Linked DNA regions of Homo sapiens: region 1 is linked to region 2. Evidence: promoter capture Hi-C in 16 types of primary human blood cells and fetal thymus (Javierre and others, 2016). All regions are on one chromosome and are shown on one strand. Each heading gives the region's core, a stretch centred on a gene start or on the middle of the fragment in contact. The rest is flanking DNA. Distances are from core to core; before and after follow the strand shown. Region 1 overlaps CTNNB1 (catenin beta 1). Region 2 holds the start of ZNF619 (zinc finger protein 619).

The links. The method cuts DNA at HindIII sites, captures the fragments that hold promoters and counts their contacts. A CHiCAGO score of 5 or more calls a contact.
Region 1: a fragment that was not itself captured here is called in contact with the fragment with the promoter of ZNF619 in region 2 in 1 of 17 cell types (total CD4 T cells); the score reaches 6.4 in total CD4 T cells.

The regions. Positions count from the first base shown.
Region 1 is chr3:41,205,103-41,208,609 of GRCh38, reverse strand. The region is part of intron 1 of CTNNB1 (catenin beta 1); the gene reads right to left. Among named protein-coding and RNA genes, the nearest start is that of CTNNB1, 7.4 kb to the right of the region's middle. The HindIII fragment of the contact is 1,601 bases long and covers 645-2,245 here.
Region 2 is chr3:40,475,564-40,479,272 of GRCh38, reverse strand. ZNF619 (zinc finger protein 619) reads right to left here and starts at 2,151. Exons shown (of 5, transcript NM_001145093.4): 1 at 1,916-2,151; 2 at 1,270-1,355. The coding sequence starts at 1,293. RefSeq lists an enhancer at 1,838-1,977. The HindIII fragment of the contact is 7,181 bases long and covers 1-3,709 here.

The DNA.
Region 1 (3,507 bases), core at 196-2,695, 730 kb before region 2:
GTATGAAACTTCAGCTGTATAGAAGTGAGGGTGAGGAACAGGGAAAAGCTTGGATAGATAAACTGTAGGTCCCAATGGGATTGATGGGCTGTTGGAACTGACGTATTTACTAGAGGAATTAGAAAGTGGGATGCTTGAAATGAGATTGGGGGAAGAGAGCAGAGTTACAGATAAAAGACAAAATATTCTAGGATATGACAATGGGAATATGTAGTTGAGTTAGGGTAGAAAATAAGATCACTGGAGAAGAAATCAAGGAACTAAGAGACCAGGATATTGGAAGCATCTTCTACATCAAAATTTGTACCAGACTGTAAATCAACATATTGCGTCCTTCATCAAAATCTTGCTACAAAAAAAGTAAGCTAAACAGTAAACTTAGTGACACAGGTGACTTATATTCTGGCATAACTCCTTATCTTAATTCATACAGGTAACAGTTACCAGACCACATCTTCACTAGTATTGCTCTACATAGATACTGATGTCACCAAGAATTATGACAGAAATAAGAGACAGTGACAATGAGCCAAGAGCTAATGAAGTGAACAAAGAAGGATGTGAATGACCCAGGAAGGTTTGCAGGTGCTTGAAATAAAGACAGGCAGTGGGTGGTATAATTTGATCACATGAAAGTCAAAGCTTGAAGTTTTGGAAAATAAAGGTCAAGAAGTGACAATAAGGAACAAAAGCAGACATTTAGTCCACACACCTCCTAGTTCAGTGTTATAAGGTGTGCAAGAAGGGAAAAATTCACCACTTGAGAGAGCTGCAAGGGAAGTAGCATTCTTGGGGAGAAGGCTAGGTTACAGCTGGAATAAGAAAGAAAGGAACATTCACAAGATTGAGAATATAAAGGATTTTCTAACGACTGAGTTCCAGAAGTTACAATGAATGGATTTCAGATGATGAAAGGTGGGAGATGGGGACCAAAAAAAGCAACAGGATTAGAGTCTGGGGGATAAGAGTTAAAACAGAAGAGCCAGTGTAACTAAAGTAACAATGTCCTTGAAAAGGCATGCCTCAGGACTGGCCTCTGCCCAGAATGCAGTACTACTTCCTTCATTGTAAAGACAGACCATTGATGAAATCTGATGGTAACAAGGTGAAGGGGTTCCTACTTAGCTCCTGATGGGGGAGAGGAGAGGGGAAGTTCAGGAGAAAAGGGAAGGTATTAAACAGCCCTTCTGTCTTAGATCTTTTCAGACAAATGTAATAGAATCTGCAGCATAATGGCAATAAGGAAAAACCTGAGGCCCTTTAGCATATAATGAGGGCGCTCTTCAAGCATGAGAAGTATTCTTCTAAAAAATCAAATTTTAATTATTTCCCAGCACCCACTTATCAGCAACACCATTTTAACCATAATTAATTACTCTGCCTCAACGGTGACCCCTGATCTTCTGGCATTCCTAGATATCTCATCTGTAAACTTTCTAGCCTCTTCTTATTCTATGGGGAACAGAATGCTGACACTCTGAATCAGGACCCAGGAAAAACGACAGCACAATTAAGCAGGAAACAGTGATCAACGGGGGACAACTACGATATACAAAGTAACAAGATAGTTGGGCTTGAAAACTAAACAATAAAATTCAGCAAAATGCCAGAAAATTGATATACTAAATTTATAATCTATTTAAAGAGCGGTATGTCAGTGTATTACGTTTCCTAAATAGCATTCAGTTTGTAACTTTTGTATCTAAATGAACTATAAAGTATAAGCGAAGTTTGAGGACATTCTTTCAATGGCTCAGAAAGGAATTTAAGGGTCTACCCCAGCACTTTCCTACACAGGGGAATGAACTCCACTTGGAAGCCTCCAAAGTTACTTGGATTGAAAAATATTTCCAAGAATCCCTTGTTCCTCCCTTATACATGTGGCATTCATCTAGTATATGCAAAACTTCAAAGACACTCACTCCCTACACCCTTACCCCAAAACCACTTAATTATACTTAAAAAAGAGAGAGAGGGAGTACAGTTCCTAATCCCTATTACAGCTGTTCAGTTTACTTCACAGTAAAGGAAAATTAGGAGCAGTTTGCAACAACTATCCCCCAGTGTAGCAAACTACTATCACCACTTAAGATCATCTTCAAATTGCACTCCCAAGAAATTTTGCAGTAAATTTAACTTCTTACACATTTTTATATGGACATCCAATAAGGTATGCTATATATATGCACATATATATGCATATATCTATTTCTGCTATTACAAAACCCTGTTAGTAAGAGAAGCTTATCACACTAAACCTAACACTTCAGCTTTTTTGTACGTCTTTGGCTTCCAACTCAGCTACCAGCATTTAAGATTTATTAATCATAAGGTTTATATGCCATGTAGACTGATTAACTTGAACTAACTTAAAGTAGGTTAAAAATACCCCCCAAGTTTTAAACGGTTTAACATATCTGTTACAAGTCAGTTAAAAAGAATTAGTCCAGCAACATGTGAATTACTAAAACAGAAGTAAAACCGTGGGGATATTAGTGAAAAAATAAAAATATGGAAATAAATAGGGGAGAAAATGGAAGTGTTATGAAGCAGTTTCACCCCAGCATCATTCAGATGTTCACACTCTTCAAACCATCATAAAGAGGGGGTGGAAAAGCCTTTTCAACAAGTTCAAAAGATACCAGAGGTAGGAAACTTCTGGGATATTACACAAGAAACTTTACAGTGGTTCCACGAAGTCTCATGGAGATTGTGGGATAGACTTGGGGTGAGACGCCTTTAGGATTAATGTTTCATGAATGGTTCACTGATCTGCTTGTATTTTACACCATCGTATCGTAATAAAAATAATTGCAGACTACAGCATTATTTTCAGATGATGCTTTTTAAACCAACACCGGCCTATGATTTACATTTTCACTCCAGTCACTTAAACACGGAGTTTGAAGACTAAACACCCCACTTTTCTTTCTTGAGATGGAGTCTCGCTCTGTTGCCCCAGCTGGAGTGCAGTGGCGTGATCTCAGCTCACTGCAACCTCCGCTTCCCAGGTTCAAGCAATTCTCATGCTTCAGACTTCCAAGCAGCTGGGATCACAGGCACCTGCCACCATGCCTGGCTAATTTTTGTATTCACCACGTCGGCCAGGCTAGTCTCGAACTCCTGACCTCAGGTGATCCACCCTCCCCAGCCTCCCAAAGTGCTGGTACTACAGGCACCAGGCCACCCCACTTTTCAAAATCTGGAAATACCTTGTTAGCAGCAAAAGATTTAACCAAAATCGATTTAACTGCCTACATAAACTTAAATTGGCCAAAAAGCCATTTGCCATTAATTTAAGTAAAACGTTTATATTCAATTAATTTTTAATTACCTAAACTGTTTTTAAGTTTTGGATCTAGTCTAACAGTAATAGTTTAGCTTAGAAATGCAAACTTCTGGTAAAAAGGACATGATTTAAAGACCAGTAAAATTGGGGGCTGACTTGAGTTGTATACACAGAATTTGTCCAGCATTTGACGTCCCTTCAGATTAAGTTTTGAGACC
Region 2 (3,709 bases), core at 902-3,401:
TGCAAGTATAAATATTGTTGGGGACTTATGGGAAGGTTCCTAAAAGAGAGAGGTTCATCTTTTTTTGGGCAGCTCCTCTTCTAGCTGGAATGCACACATGATGGCTAGAGATCAAGCAGCCACCTTGGACAATAAAGTGGCCTAGAGCAGGTGAGACACTGCTAGGATGGTAGAGCAGAAAGACAGAGCCTGAGAGCATAATAGGGGAGCTGCCACACTAGCCCTGTATTGACTCTTGATACTTTTGTATGAGAGAGAAGCCTTTACCTCGTTTAATCCACTGTCATTTGGGGTCCTCTTTGGGGAATCTAATCCTAAGTGATTTCTGTACTTCAGGCAAAGCACCAGGAGAGCACAGCATACCCCCACAGCACACTTCCTGACTTGTAGGAATGAATTTTTGCTGAAGTTCTCGAACAGAAGTGGATGGTCCAATATCCACCAAAAGGACACACACATTGTTTTTAAGTCCTTGGGATGGAGCTTTCTCATTACAAGATACATCCATTACATGATAAACTCAGCTTTCTCATTCCATGATCTAGGACACTGGAGAAAAATCCAGTAAAACCATCATCTACCACCAAGAAAACTGGAGGGAAAAGTCCTCCCAATGCTACATGAATTTGTAGCCAAGAAAGGATATAGACTCTCACAGAGGTTAGACTGACGTCTTCGCATTGAGCTAAAGGCACTGGCTTCAGCTCCAAACTCATCATTCCTCCAAAAATACATCTCCCTCATCAATCTACATTTTCCACATGTTTCCAGTTCTGGCTTCACTGTACCTTAACTGAGTGGTCTGCAGGGTAAACTCCTCCCTTGGAAGTGTCTATTTAACCTCAGAAATGGCTTTTCTTTGTGTACTGTGAACGCAGACTAGCACTCCTCAAATTTTAATCTGCCCTTTAATTTTCCAGATCTTGTAAAAATGTAGATTCTGATTTAGGAGATCTGGGGAGGGGGCCTGACATTTTGCCTAACAAGAGCCCTCTGTAATGCAAAAGCTGCTCATCTCCAGGCCACACTTTCAGTTCTCATGAATGCAGATTCCCACTTTCTAGGATAATTCATTCCTTCTTTTCCAACCTACCTGACTCTCCCAAATTCACCTACTCTCGTTCGTCAACTCCCCTCGCATACTGTTTTTACATACTTTATTGAAGGATGTAAAACTAAGCATGAGACTGGCCAAGTCAGGCTACTGGGGCTGTACTGACCTTCCATATCTGTTCTGAGTATGGAAAGCTGAAAGAAAGCTCTGCTCACCTGGAACCACACTGTCTGGAGCATGGCTGATGACCCCTGGCTTCATGCACTGCCCTCTAGGTTTGAAAAAGTAAGAACCTGCGGAGCTAAGAGAGAACCACAATGAGACTGATCTGTCTCGTCTCCTACACTTGCCGCCTCTTCCCCTCTGTCTCCTGCCACTAGCATTGCAGATATTCTTGGCACACTAGCTGCTGTCATTCACCCTCTCCACTGATTCATGGGATGTTGCAAATGCTCCCTCTGCATATTCTCCTATAGATCTGCTTGGTGACACTGGAAACTCTAGAAAGAATATCTGTAAAGTAAGAGTCAAGAACTGCAGTGGATTCGTGGCTGTTTTTTAAAAAAAATTCTTGGCCCCACTATGAATGCATTACTAAACAGTTTGTATTGAATGCTTCTAGTGTTCATGGCAAAAACCCAAAACAAGTCTCTGGAGAGAAAGTAGGATATAACGGGGACCCCTAAACAAACCACAGGCTGCAGGACAAAATATAAGTGGTGACCCAGCCCCGGGTGACAAGGGTAAGACGCTTAATGTCCCAGCGGGTGATGCTGACCGAAGACCTAACCGGGATCTGAACGCTCCACCCTGGGAAGCAGGAGACCCTATAGTCACGGCTCCCATCCTCCCCATGAATACCGCGACCCGAGGACATCAGGCCAGCTCCTCGGAGCAGGAAGGTCGAGGGCGTCTCTGAAGACTGGGGACTGGGCCCAGGCTCTGGCGGCGGCGCGGGCCCCTCGGCGACCTCTGCAAGGGCCCAAAGCCTGACCTCCAGAACAGGTAGCCGAGTCAGGGAAGCCCGGGAAACTCAACCCGAGCGCTCGCAAGGTGGCCAAGACGGAAGCATTAGCTGGCCGGCCGTCGGTCCCTACAGCCTCTCTAGGAAGCCGGGAGGCTGGCCCTTCTCTATGGTTCCCACGAAACGAAACTCCAACCCTTCGCTTCCCTTCTCCACAACCGCTCTGCGCCTGGTTTGTTTGTTTTTTAATTTTAATTTTTTCGTGTGTTTTTTGAAACGGGGGTCTCGCTATGTTGCGCAGGCTGTTCTCGAACTCCTGAGCTCAAGCTGTCCGCCCGCCTCGGCCTCCCAAAGTGCTGGGAATACAGGCGTGAGCCACCGCGCCCGGCCGCTCCTGTTTTTCTTTATTATTTTCTCTTATGTCTTAGTACCCCAACTACATGATAAATTCCTCCATATTTAACAATTTGTAACTTAATTAACTGAATTCCTAATTCCTTACCTAATTACTTAATTCCTAACTTAACCTTCTAATGAATTTATAGCCCCTGTCTCCCACTGAATGACTGTGACCTAAGACCATGGGGTATGGTGTCTCATTGTCTGCGTTCCTGGCTCCACTCTATATGGACTTGCTCAAGTTATACTTAAATCGTTGCCTCAATTTATCAGTTGAGAATGGTAAAAGTTTGTAATTTATAAATTCAGTGAATTAACTGAGTCAATTCATGCAACAGTTTTGTAAACCAAAAATAAAATTCTAAGTCCCCCAACCAACTGAATGGACCACTTCTCTCAGCCAAAACATTCCAAAGAAAACCTGGCAATCTAGTTCAGGCCATGATGGGAAGCAGGGGATCGGACTTGCCTCGTTATGCCCTTGGAATTCAGGCACTACGGACCAGCATTAACATTAAAACAGAGATCTTGAGACTGACTAAAACTTTTTTTTTTTTTTTCCGAGATGGAGTCTTACTCTGTAGCCCAGGCTGGAGTACAGTTTCCCGATCTCGGCTCACTGCAACCTCCGCCTCCCGGGTTCAAGCAATTCTCCTGCCTCAGCCTCCTGAGTAGCTGGGATTACAGGAACGTGCCAACACGCCCGGCTAATTTTTGTATTCTTAGTAGAGACGGGATTTCACCATGTTGACCAGGCTGGTCTTGAACTAGACCTCGTGATCGCCCGCCTCGGCCTCCCAAAGTGCTGGGATTACAGGCGTGAGCCACCACGCCCAGCCCAAAACAAACTCTTTATAGCAATAAGACATCAAATTCTAACCTGACTCTAGTATAGTCTCATGTGACAGATAACAGGCCCTGAAATAAACTGAAGTATTTTACCCTAAAATGTATTTCTTTGACATATTTTGAAATGACCCTGTAAAGCTGTCTTTTGTGAAGAAAATCTACATCCTGTAAAGAATCCCCTTCACTTTCAAAGTGTTTTCCTTGATCCAGTAGAGAATTAACTAAGAGTTTGGCACCTTTTGAAGTCTGGTAAGAAACATTTACAATCGTTTCTCTCTGAAGCCTGCTACCTGGAGGTTTCATCTGCATAATAAGAACATTGGTCTCCAAAACCCCTTATCTTAACTCAGACATTCCCTTCAATTGATTCCAGGTCTTTAGCTAATAACTTTTTTTTTTTTTTTTTTTTTTTGAGACAGAGTCTTGCTCTGTCGCCCAGGCTG